Regions from separate parts of the Homo sapiens genome. Here region 2 is linked to region 1. Evidence: promoter capture Hi-C in human tissues and cell types (Jung and others, 2019). All regions are on one chromosome and are shown on one strand. The core of a region is centred on a gene start or on the middle of the fragment in contact, and the rest is flanking DNA. Distances in the headings are between cores, read along the strand shown. Region 1 holds the start of MAPKAP1 (MAPK associated protein 1). Region 2 overlaps MAPKAP1 (MAPK associated protein 1).

Region 1 (6,885 bases), core at 885-3,384:
TTTTTTTTTTAGTAGAGACAGGGTTTCACCATGTTAAGACAGGATGGTCTTGATCTTCTGACCTTGTGATCCGCACCCCTTGGCCTCCCAAAGTGCTGGGATTACAGGCATGAGCCACCGTGCCCGGCCTATATAGAGATAAATTTTTTAAGGTAGTGATGGGGTCTCACCATGTTGCCTAGGCTGGTCTTGAACTCCTGGGCTCAGATGATCTTCCTGCCTTGGTCTCTCAAAGTGCTAGGAAATATTTACTCTTTAGAATCTATAACTGCTTAGCAGTTTTAGATAGGTCGAGTTTTATGTGTCTAGGAGACAGTCAGGCAGCTGTGCTTCAGATTGGAACTCGAGAGAGAGAGAGAGGAAAATGGAGAGTAAGATTTAGGAAGGAACAGATAACCTGGTGACCTCAGAAAATCAAATATCCAAACTTGTTCACACCTGCTGCTTTGTTAGAGTGCCTCTGACAGGTCCCTGATGGAACTGTGGTGGTGTGTGTGCAAGAGTGTGTCTGGGTGCTGAGGTGCACTATTCCCCCAGTATAGATATGTGGTAAGATACCAATTACATAAAGTAATGGGATGTAGTAAGAGATCAATCACATATGGTCATGCGTGGAATGAGGATGTTTTGGTCAATGACAGAGTGCATATGATGGTGGTCCCCTAAGATTATAACATGGTCTTTTAATTGTACCTTTTCTGCATTTAGAGATGTTTAGATACACAAATACCATTGTGTTAGAATTGCCTACAGTATATGGTACAGTAACATGCTGTACAGGTGTGCAGCCTAGAAGCAATAGGCTAATACCAAACAGCCTAGGTGTGTAGTAGGCTCTGACATTGTGTAAGTACAGTCTATGATGTTTACACAACCACAAAATCAGCTAACGATGCATTTCTTGTGTCCTCATCATTAAGTGATGGATGACCATATTTGAAATACATGGGTAGACCCACCGTGTTTTTTGTTTTTTTGTTTTGAGACAGAGTCTCTGTCACCCAGGCTGGAGTGCAGTGGCCTGATCTTGGGTCACTGCAACCTCTGCCTCCCGGGTTCAAGCCATTCTCCTGCCTCAGTCTCCTGAGTAGCTGGGACTACAGGTGCACACCACCACGCCAGACTAATTTTTGTATTTTTAGTAGAGACAGGGTTTCACCATGTTGGCCAGGCTGGTCTCGAACTCCTGATCTCAAGTGATCTGCCCTCCTCGGCCTCCCAAAGTGCTGGGATTACAGGTGTGAGCCACCGTGCCTGGCCCCATGGCATATTTATTAATAAGTTTAAAATTGGGCAGGGGTCCCTCAGGGCTGAAATTCAACCTTGAGTTTTTTCTTTTGCTAAGGTGCGTTTTTGAGAGACTTCCCCAAGCATCTTTCAGGTGGGAGAACCACTCTCACTGCACTCCCTGAATCCTTTTTCCCCCTTCATCGTGGCTTTCTCTACTGATTTCCTCCGTGAGAGAGGAAGGGAGCAGCATGAGACACACTGAACTTCTGCCCTGTGCCAGTCCTCCTACATCTCCTGGAAACCTCCCAGCAGGGCTTGAGGAAGATTATTGTCACCTCCATATTACAGATATTATAATAAGAGAAATAACTAACATTGACTGCATGTTTACTATGTGTCAGGCACTATGCTGGGTGTTTTTCAAGCATCATCCCATTCGATTCCCACAGCAATATACTCTAAAGTTGAAACTATTGCCCTGGATGGGAAAACCCGAGGCTCAGAGAGAAGTGTCACATCCTAGGACACACAGCAAGTTATAAGAGCTGGCATTTGAACCCAGGTCTTTCTCAGAGAGGCTGAGCTGCCTCATCACTCATTTCTGGACGAACTAAGGGCTTTTCTCCGTGGAAATGGGGAGAAAGAAGATTCGATGGAGAAGCCTAACACTGATTCCTGCTCAAGGCAAGTCCAGGCACTGGCGCATCTTGCCAGAACTCAGTCTCCGACCCAGGCCTTTCCCTGCACTGGAGAAGCGGCGCGCATGCGCCCGGCCTCCCTCCCGGCCCCGCCCCGCGGGAAGCTACCGCTCCTTGCTTTCAGCTCTGGGGCTTGCGCACTACGTCCCCAGCCAGAGGCTCCTTCCCGGTCGGGGACTTCCGGAACGCCGGGGTGTGGTTCCGGGTCGTGTGCGGCTCGGGGTAATAGGGCTGCTGCTCGGCCGGCCGGCGGCGGCGAGCAGCAGGGGCATGAGGGCTAACCCGGGAAGCGGCAGCTGAGCGGGCCGGGAGGAGCGCCGGTCCCCGTGGATCCCGAGAGTGCAGAGCTCGGGGCAGGGGCCGGGAGGCGTGGGGGAGCCGGGCCCTCCCCTCAGGAACGTGTCCCGGGGCCGACCCGGCCCGTAGTGTGGAAGCAGCTTCAGGTAAAGGTTGCCCCAGCCGCCAGCTCCCCGCCCGTCCGTCAGCCCACCAGCTTGCCCACCTGGCGGCCCTCTCACCCCTCCAGTTTCAGCGCTGCCCGGCGGGCCGCCTGCCGGGCCCTTGTTCAGGTGGCCCGGGCGCGTTCGTTTCCTGGCCATTTCCAGAACTGGAGGCTGTCAGGAGTCTGAGGCGGGTGTGTGGTTTAGGGGAAAAGAAGCCAGCTGACCTGGTAGTGTGGGGGTGGGGGGTGTAGTTGACTCCGGCAGTTTCTGGGCCTGCACTTGGCAATATCTAGGTGCCCTGGTCTTCATAATGTGAAAATCAAGGTTTTCAAGCATTGACTGTGTGGTCCTTGTTTCCTTGCGTCCCTTCTCCCCCTCCCCCTTAAAGAGGTTAACAGCCTTACAGACTTTTTTCTAGCTACAGTGCTGCTGGAACTTTGATTCATTCTTTGTTTATGGGAGTGGCAAGGAGTCATTTAGATTTGTTTAAGGCTGGGAAAAAGAGATTGTAGCGTAAACAAGATTATGACTTTAACCAGAGACCCCCAAATTGACTCAGAAATTGGTTAAAACTTCCTTTTGAATGAATGAAAGTCACTTTGGAAGCCCACCACAGTACCTGGCACTGTACAAAGCACCATGTTGTTATAAACCCAAATCGGCAAAGTTCAAAACTTTCCCAGGTGTGAAGAGTCAAATGGAGACCCATTGGTTTAAAAAAAGCAGCGTTCTCATTCTCTGACAAGCAGGAGAGGTGGATCCGTAATGTTAAAACCCACTTGAGCAGAAGCCTAGATATGGGTTTTATTCCTTATATTTTATGAGCCCACACAAGGTACCTAGTAAACACGGAAAGAGTTCTTGATGAAGCAATAATTGTTTTCATGTTTTTCAGTTTACACACCTGCGGGATTTGGGGCATGCTGGTAGCCCTTTCCCATTCATCTGTGTGCTCATGCCTACCTTCAACTACTGTGTGTCCCAGACTGCACTTACACCCCCTTACATCTCCTAATCTGGCTCCTGGTTACCTTTCCAGTTATGCTTGAAAAGGTCTCCTTCTTTAATTACCCCATCCTGATCCATTACTCTGAATAAGTAGGATCTCTAATCATTTTTGTTCTTTCCTATTCCATTGATTTTTGTAGAACATTCTCCCTACCTTGCCTAGGTTTCCCCTTTTCTCTTTCAGTCTATTGAGACGCTTCCCACGGCTCAGCTGAGTTGGCCTCACCCAACCAATTCAGGACAACCCCACCTGGAAATGATTTTTCCTCTAGAATTCTATAAGCGCTCATTTTTATCTACAATTATTTAACTTAGCAAATGTTTACTGAATATGGATATGTATATATATGCCAGGTACCATGCTAGGCAATTAGAGATAAATATAAGATTCAGTCTTTGCTGCCAGGGAGCTCAATTTAGTGAAAGAGAGATAAGGGAAATGAATAATTCTAACACCGTGATAAGTACATTGTGTGAGAGTTCTTGTGACAGTGGTAGGTGCGGGAGGGGAATGGGTTATTCACCTTTGAGGGATGGGATGTGGCCAGGTAATGCTTCATAATTTGAGGTAAACTAAACTTTGAGTATTTGGGTATTATATAGGGGTTTCTATTGTTTAATCATTTTAACCTCAATTTACAGATTAGGAAGACCCATAATAAATTACACAGCTGGTAGGAGACAGAGCCAGGATTCAAACCCAGGTCTGTCTGATGCCTAAATCTGTGCTTTTTCCATTACATGTCTTGCCTTTTTCTCACATCATCTCCCTCTTTTTATGCAAGTACATATTGAAACCAAAAGTTATATAGGACAAAACATATGAATGTTAAAATGAATGGTACAGAAATCTTTTAAATGTAAAGACTGTGCTCTTCCAAGGCAAGGAGATGGCAGGTAGGTTAGTTAGCTCAGCTTTGAATATGAGCAGAGAAGACAGTCTATAGAAAATAGGCATGGACTCTGGATTCAATTCCTGGTCCCTGTTCTTACAGGATATGTGACCTTCGACACATAACTCCAAGCATCACTTTCTTCAACTAGGGGTTGGGTTAGGGAATAATATTGACCACATGGAGTGTTGTGAATATTTATTGAACTAATGGGGATAAAGGGCCTGGTACGTGGTAAAGTCCCCCGAAATAAATAGCTATAAGATACAAAGGTATAATGCTTGAGGCATGGTTTTAGACTGGTGAGTGAGTTTACAGCCTGAGTCATGCAAGTCATTGCTTCTTTTAGCAGGGTACAAGGACGTAAAGTTGGAGGGGCGGTAGGGGTCAGAGTCAGTGAGGGCTTGAGTACCAGGCAAGGGAGGTAAATTCCAGTTTCTGCTAATAACTTTTCCAGTTAATAAATACTTCGAGGATCTACGATTCATTTCAGCAGTGCCAAGCAAAATGTTAGACCTTGGGGATACAAAAAGAAGTAAAATTGGGTCCCTATCCTGAGGTTATTGACATTCTAGTAGAGGAGATGTCTGTGTGTGTGCAGGTGAACCATAATAAAGTACTGTGGGTTCTAAGGTAGAAGTCCCCAGGAGGTACCATAGAACACTGAGAAGGAAACACTGATGATGGTAGGTAATGAGTACTTACTCTGCTGGTGTGATGTTAAATGCTTTATCTCATTTTTTTCTCGTGTGAGAAGGTGTTATTAGCATCCTGATTTTACAGATGAGGAAACTGGGGCACAGAGACCTTGAATAACTTCCTTGAGTTTATGCTGCTGGTAGAGCTGTAAGATAGAGGGGATTATCTGCTGAACACTGAGATCGGCACTCTTCATTACTACACCATGTTGCTTGTTCTTTGTGATGTGGATGCGGACCCTCTGGAAAGGCTTCAGAGAGAAACTTGCCCTTGAGCTGTAGCTTCAGTGTGCCAGTCATTGTGAGACAGGAGGGATCACGAGGAATGGAAGTGGCCTTTGCACTAAAGGAGCTCATAGCCTTATCTGTTACTTTAAATGTTTTTCTTTTTTGGTGGGGGAGCTTGTTTTGCTTATTGACTTATACCTGAAGACTTCAGAAACTTTTGCAGTTGAGTGGATTTATATGATTCAGCCTAAGATAATTTGCTGGCAATCTGTTATTCTGATGTATAGGCCTTACTGTTACGGACGCAGTTGTAGATGTCAAATTATTATATGACAAGGACTTCTGTCACGTTACTTGTTTTTTTTTTTTTTTTTGAGACAGTCTTGCTCTATCACCCAGGGTGGAGTGCAGTGGCATGATCTTGGCTGACTGCAACCTCTGCCTCCTGGGTTCAAGAGATTCTCTTGCCTCAGCCTCCCAAGTAGCTGGGACTATAGGCAGGTGCCACCACGCCTGGCCAATTTTTGTGTTTTTAGTAGAAACGGGGTTTTGCTGTGTTGGCCAGGCTGGTCTCAAACTCCTGACCTCAAGTGATCTGCCTGCCTCGGGCTCTCAAAGTGCTGGGATTACAGGCGTGAGCCACCATTCGTGGCCACATTACGTTTTTTCCCTATGGGAGGTGCCCTGACTTGTTTCTGTGAGTTCGAAGTTTTTGTGAAGTTTTTTGACTCAGAAGTCAGCATATTTCAGCTTGTGTTAAATTTAAGAGGCTTAGTGGTTAAATATGTTACTTAAGAGTCACAGAGCTAATGTGTGATAGAGCCACAAAAAACTGGCCAAAAAAGAGTAAACAAATCTTCATTAAATTATTATTATTGTTCTGTTTGAGCATCTTCCTCAGTGGTCTCCAAGTCCGATGCCTGTTATGTACTAGGATGAGTAGGCTGGGCCTTGATGAACTGGAGAGCACGGGCCCAAACTAAAGGGAGCAGTTGCTGCTCAGCTCCACTTGCTTGTTGCCATGTGAGGAAGTGGGCCCAGTGTCCTTGGATCTTTTGACACTTTTTGGAAAAGATGCTGGAAATCTGGATTTTAATTTATTCTTATTTATTTATTTAACTTTTAGAGACAGGGTATCGTCCTATCAGGCTAGAGTGCAGTTTCGTGGTAATAGCTCACTACAGCCTTGAATTCTGGGCTCAAGTGATCCTCCCACCTCTGCCTCCCCAATAGCTAGGACTACAGGCGCATGCCACTATGTGTAGCTAGTTTTTTTTTTTTTTCTTTTTTTGAGACAAAGTCTCGCTCTTGTTGCCCAGGCTGGAGTGCAGTGGCATGACCTTGGCTCACTGCAATGTCCGCCTCCCGGGTTCAAGCGATTCTCTTGCCTCAGCCTCCTGAGTAGCTGGGACTACAGGTGCCCATCACCACGCCCAGCTAATTTTTGTATTTTTAGTAGAGACAGGGTTTTGCCGTGTTGGCCAGGCTGGTCTTGAACTCTTGACCTCAAGTGATCCGCCTGCTTCAGGCTCTCAAAGTGCTGGGATTACAGGGGTGAGCCATTGCATCCGGCCATGTACTAGCTAGTTGTTGCTTTTATTTTTTTTGTGGGAAGGAGTTTCGCTCTTGTTGCCCAGGCTGGAGTGCAATGGCGCGATCTTGACTCACTGCAACCTCCACCTCCTGG
Region 2 (6,259 bases), core at 2,746-5,245, 97 kb after region 1:
TCTCCTTAATCTCTTAATATGATTATTATTATTATTATATTTTGAGACGGAGTCTCACTCTGTTGCTCAAAGCTGGAGTGCAATGGCGCGATCTTGGCTCACTGCAACCTCCACTTCCAGGGTTCAAGTGATTCTCCCTGCCCTAGCCTCCCAAGTAGCTGGGATTACAGGCGCCTGCTACCACACCCGGCTAAGTTTTGTGTTTTTAGTGGAGACAGGGTTTCACCATGTTGGCCAGGCTGGTCTCGAACTCCTGACCTCAGGTGATCTGCCCACCTTGGGCTCCCAAAGTGCTGGGATTACAAGTATGAGCCATCACGCCTAGCTTTAATATGATTATTATATTGATTTATCATCTTATGTTAAACCAACCTAGTATTTGATACAATAAACTCAGCTTTGGTCATCAAATATTCTAGTTTTTATATCTTGCTGGGTTGGTTTGCTAATATTTATTTAGGATCTTTGTTCACAAGTAAACCTGGCCTGTAAGATTATTCTCTTACACTCTCAGGTTTGGATATGGAGGTTTTTCTAACCTTATAAAGTGATTTAGAAATTGCTCTTTTTTGGCCGGGCCTGGTGGCTCACGCCTGTAATCCCAGCACTTTGGGAGGCCGAGGCGGGTGGATCACGAGGTCAGGAGATCAAGACCATCCTGGCTAACATGGTGAAACCCCGTCTCTATTAAAAAATACAAAAAATTAGCCGAGCGTGGTGGCGGGCGCCTGTAGTCCCAGCTACTGGGGAGGATGAGGCAGGAGAATGGCGTGAACCTGGGAGGCGGAGCTTGCAGTGAGCTGAGATCGCGCCACTGCACTCCAGCTTGGGTGACAGAGCGAGACTCCGTCTTAAAAAAAAAAAAAAGAAATTGCTCTTTTTCAGTAAGGTTAAATAGTATGGGTAATTCTAGCATTATCTGTTCTTTGAATGTTTGGCGGAACCTGCTAATAAAAGTAAACTATTGTTGTCACAGGTTGGGTTCTCCTGGGAAGCAGTCTCTGAAATGGAGATTAACATGCAGGAAATGTATTAGGGAGTGTTTTCTGGATTAGCATCTGTGTGGAAAAGGGAGGAAAACAGAATTGGGTAGAGGGAGGAGTTGGGACTGTGATGCAGTCGTAACAAGGCCTCACCTGACACCATGGAGTACTCTGCAGCTGGATGGACCTTCACAGTTGTCCCAAGTTAGGGTAAGGGGGTCAGGCCTCTTACATTCTTGCATCTAACCTATCATTGGATTCTGAGTGTCGTGAGAAGGAGGTGCAGTCTTGGCAAGGTGACTCTGTCAGCCAGCACAATTGCAGGAAAGGACTAACAGCTGATAGCCATCAGCCAGCATTCCTTCCAGCAGTTGGGAAATATGCGCTTTATTCCTGAAAAGAGGGAATCTGGGTGGTACAGTCCACCCTTGGTGCTGCTTGGGTTTACTGGCTTCATGTTAAGTTCTGGGAGCACACCTTCAGGTCTGCGTTGGACTTCGTTTCTTTGGGGAAATTTATACAAAGAGGGTTAGTATAATGATCTACAGTCCTGTTTCTACCACTGGTCTTGAGGTCATGACTAACACTCATCTGTCTCTTCAAGTATTTATTCTAGTCCTGTCAACCTTGGTTAGTTAGCATCTTGGCTGGTCTAGGTCTTAAATGGTATGATGACCCAGATCCTTATGTCTGAGGGCCCAAGCCTCTGTTTACCTTTCTCAGGATGTAGCTGCTTCATTTGTCCATTAACCACTAAAATTGGGTAAAAGTAATAAGATACCCCAATGGATTTACTGGCTAGATGTGTTTCTTCCTGCCTCCATTGTGTAACAGCCTCATGTTCTTTTGATGAGTGTCAGTCACTCCTGTGAGGATGGTGACTTTCCTTCTTGCCTGATGTCCCTTGGCATGAGGAACCTGGGCTGCAGCCATAGTTTTAACATTTAGTGGTACTTCTGCTGTGTCTCCCAGTGGAAGTGTTCTCCCTTTGGGAATCAGGATCTCTTAATTGATAGAGCCTCTATTTACCCAACAGAATTAAAAACATAAGTTCATTCACATAAAGATTTGTACATGAATGCTGGCCTGTTCAAAAACACTGCAGGACAGATGGCTTCAGAAAGAATAGGGAATCAGGAAATAGACAGTGCGTTTAGGAACTCAGTTTATTGTGGTTCTACAACAACTGATTGTTAGTAGATAAGTTTAATTTCCAATCTTACTCCACATGCCGCCCCCCATTAAAGAGCTAACATAAAAATTTTAAATTTAAAAAAAAACTAAAAGAATTTGTACAGAAGCTGTGACACTACCAGTTATTTGAAATTCGTTGAGCATGGCTGTATGCCCATTAATATAGGTCACCTTTTATAAATATTATATGTGAACTTGGAAAGAATGTGATTTTAGCTGCTGTTGGTTGCAATATTCTAAATATTGTCATTAGGTCAAGACTGTTACAGGTTGAGCATTCTTACTCTGAAAATCTGAAGTTTAAAATGCTCCAAAATCTAAAACTTTTTGAGCGCTTATAAGTAACTCATGTATCAAAAAATAACAGAAATCAGAAAATATTTAGAAACAAGCATTTCCTTTGGAGCATGATCAAAGGAAATGCTCATTGGAGCATATTACATTTTGGATTTTTGGATTAGGGTTACTCAACCAATAAGTATAGTGTAAATATTTCAGAATCTTAAATATGAAACACTCCTGGTCCCAATAATTTTGAATAGGGGATACTCAATCTGTAAATCTGTTAAAATTTTCTTTACAGATATTTTTGTCCAAGCCATCAGTTAGACAGAAATACGCTTGAATTTCCTGCTGTTGATAGACTGTCCATTTTTTCTTGTTAATTGTGACTATTTTTTCTTTGTATATTGTGATGTTATGCTTTTATGTTCACACAATTTCAGAATTGCTATTTTTTCCTGGTGAATTGAACCATTTGTCATTTGTGATTAACTCTAGTGAAGTTTTCCTCCCTTTCAAATAGTTACACCTGCTCCATTTGGTTGATATTTGTCTGGTATAGATGCAATTTCATTTTGATGTTTTAAGATACAGATCTTCTTTCCTATTTTTCTTCTTTTGCATTCATTGGGCTTTCTGAATCTGCATATTAGTGTCTTTCATCATTCTGGAAAATTCTCAGCCACTGTCTTTTCAGACATTGCCTCCGAACCAGTTATTCTTTTCTCTTCTTCTGAAACTCTAGCTACACCTATCAGAATGTGTTATTTTATCCTTCTCATCTCTTAATTTCTCTTTCTTATTTCCTATCTCTGTGTCTCTTTGGGTTGCATTCTAGGTAATTTCTTCAACTCATATCTTCCTAACAGATTCTCTCCTCAGCTGTGGAACCCATATGTTGCATTTCCAATTTTAGTTGTTGTATTTTTAATTTCTAGAAGTCTGATTTTGATCTTGTAAAAATCTGCTTGGTAATTTAAAAAACTATTACGAAAAGTGTAGTAATTTTATTAGTAAAAGTTCAGTGAGCACCCTTATGTGTAGCACCTGTATTCAGTAATTGTTAACATTTTGTCATATTTGCTTTATTTATGCTTTATTTAATCTTTAAAAGTTGACATTCACTCCTAGCGACATTCTCCTACTCAACCATAATATATCACACCTTGGATAATCTTTTATAGTCTCTTGCACTTACTCCACATTTTTGCTTACACATTTATTTTATATTTTGCTTCTGATCATACTGTTAACTCCAGTCTTTCTGGGCCTATTTCATGATGCCTTCTATGTTTTGTGATTTGGAGATAGAACAAATTATTTCTTGCAAATTTTTCTGTTGGAATTATTTGAGTCATTTAGGTTTTTCCCAATAGGATCTGCGTTTGCTTCTACCTAGAACCTGGGGGCACTACCACCTCAGGACCACTTTAAATTCTTGGCTTAAAATCTTTCTGGTCCATCAAATAATACGAATTTGGGATAGAAATTTCATATGAAGGTTCGTTTATGTTTATAAAGTCTGAGGAAGAAAATAATTTTGGGGGAAGACAGGCAGTTTTACCTTGCTGGAGGTCAGTCGGGAAACCTTAATTCTAATTTACTCTCACATGTAGGTCTTTGGTGGTGGTGGGTTGTGAGGAGGGTATCACGGTCTTATTATAGGTTATAGATAGACTGTTCCCTATAGCCTGCTGACCAAGAAAACTGACACTTCATGTCACCTTGTTTGGCAAGTACCATCATTAAGGCAAAATTATGTTCTGTTTTTCATTCTAGATTCTCTTTTCACTTAGTCTTTGTGCTTTTGTGATTGCCTTAAAAAGTTGCCAACCAGTGTATTGAGTCAGATAAAATAGCTCTTTTTATATTTCATAAATATGTTTAACTGTTTTCTGTTTGAGGGTTGGTCAGGATACATACTTTGCCATATGGTTGAAATACAAGTCCTATAGTAAAATAGTTTTTAGTGTGTTGTATTAAATGCTGTGGGAGAGGAATATATATTACAGAATGAAGAGAAAGAGTTTGTGTTTACACATATCATGGCTCTTTATTTCATGCAAATGTTGATTCAAAATGTAAGAAGATGTTTTTTCAAATAAGAACTTTCCCTCCAAAAAAGCTTTTCAAATATATTGGTTTTGGGAAGAATTGTTGTCAAGTTAAGATTGTGGTCTTTTGAGTCAGTCAGAGGCGGGTTTCCATCTGAGTTATCTTACTGGCTGTGTGACCTTTAACAATTTCTTTCACCTCTTAGCAGTTTATCTGTAAAATAGGGTAAGTGGGGGCTGTTTTGAAGATCAAAAGAGAGAATTTATGTGGCACACTCAGCCCAGTGCCAGGCACAGAGTAAATGGTAGCCATTTTTAATTTTAGTTATTCTCTTTCCAGAAATGTTCAAGATGCTGTTAATAGAGTGTTAAATGTGAAACATCTCACATTGTACATGGAGTAGTGTAAAATTGAATGTGGGTTTGGGAGAAACTACCAAAACTACCAAAAAGAGAAAAACGAGAAAGGCACTCAGGGTCAGAAAATGAGGAAAACAGGATGAAGCTTGGCAGGCCAGGCCCGGTGACAAGTGCCTGAGTTAGCTATTCAGGAGGCAGAGGCAAGGGGATCACTTGAGCTCGGGAGTTCAAGACCAACCTGGGCAACATAGTGAGACTCTTTCTTAAAGACAAATAAACAACATACTCTTTCTTAAAAACAAACAAACAAACAAATAAATAAAGAAGCTTGGCAGGTGAAACAAAGCCAGAGGCTGTCTGCTTCCCTTAGCATTCCGAGAGTGGGATTTCTTAAGGATTTTTTCTGTTCCAGCTCTTTTTTGTATATGTCCTGTTCATTTAGTTGAGCATATATATCCCTACCCCTTTGGGTCAAAGGAAGTTCCCACTTGCTGTGGTTCAAGGGAGCTGCTTTGGGTACTTTAGGGGAAGGAAACTTGTTCCCTTCTATAGAGACCTCAAAGATAGGAATTTTCATTCCCATCAGTTCAGCAAGTAACCATTTTGCATCCCCAGAATTCTGGAAGTACCTAATTAAAAAATGACACAGTTGCATTTTTAATAGACAAATTTACAATTAACAGGAATTTAAAAATATATAACATGAAACATCAGCATGTTTCAGGTAGTATAAGCATTTAGGTTTTTTTCTCTCCCTCTTGATATGACTCAGTCTAATTCTTGTGTATCTTCTTAGTTAGGCTCCACTGTAGGGCAGTATTGGAAATAAGAGGGAATTGTGTAACCCACCTCCATCTAACCTTTTGCTCTCTATTTTTTTGCATGCCCAAAGACAGGAGAAGTATGTCTTATTCATCATCTTTGTATATTTCTCTTGGTACTAATATTGTCATTTTGGTTTTTTAGTAAAGGAAATTGGCTTATTTGAAACGTTTGATTTAATCCTCTGTGGAAATAGCGGTTTACTGGAAGGTTAAGGCAGCCGGTTTGGGCTCCTCTCAGAGTCTCTGTGCAATTGTTGGAAAGGAAACCCCAGGGAAACCCCTGAGCGCAGGCGTCGGAAAAGCAGTGGCTGCGCAGAAGACAAAACACTCCAGATGCTTTATCAGGTGCTGTCTGGAGAGCAGGAATAATGGTCTGAAGGCGGAAATGCTGATGTCTCCACTTTCCCAACTTAGTACAAATATCTTCTTTATCTTTGGTGGATTTTGGTGCCACAGCGGCGGCCCCAAGAAGCCCTAAATGCAAATGTGATGGCTTTTAGAATTTTGGCTTTGAAAGCCTGGCATTTGGGGGTTTTCTTGACTTGAATTCTCTTTTTAAAGG

What was found. Contacts are between HindIII fragments. The study calls those that stand out against the background at their distance.
Region 2: a contact is called between a fragment that was not itself captured here and the fragment with the promoter of MAPKAP1 in region 1, in 2 of the 25 tissues and cell types used here (dorsolateral prefrontal cortex and hippocampus).

What each region holds. Positions count from the first base shown.
Region 1 is chr9:125,702,457-125,709,341 of GRCh38, reverse strand. It overlaps MAPKAP1 (MAPK associated protein 1), which reads left to right and starts at 2,134. Exons shown (of 12, transcript NM_001006617.3): 1 at 2,134-2,371. RefSeq lists enhancers at 1,761-1,920, 1,918-2,212 and silencers at 1,921-2,090, 2,201-2,430. The HindIII fragment of the contact is 13,511 bases long and covers 1-6,885 here.
Region 2 is chr9:125,608,410-125,614,668 of GRCh38, reverse strand. The region is part of intron 4 of MAPKAP1 (MAPK associated protein 1); the gene reads left to right. Among named protein-coding and RNA genes, the nearest start is that of MAPKAP1, 96 kb to the left of the region's middle. The HindIII fragment of the contact is 6,770 bases long and covers 611-6,259 here.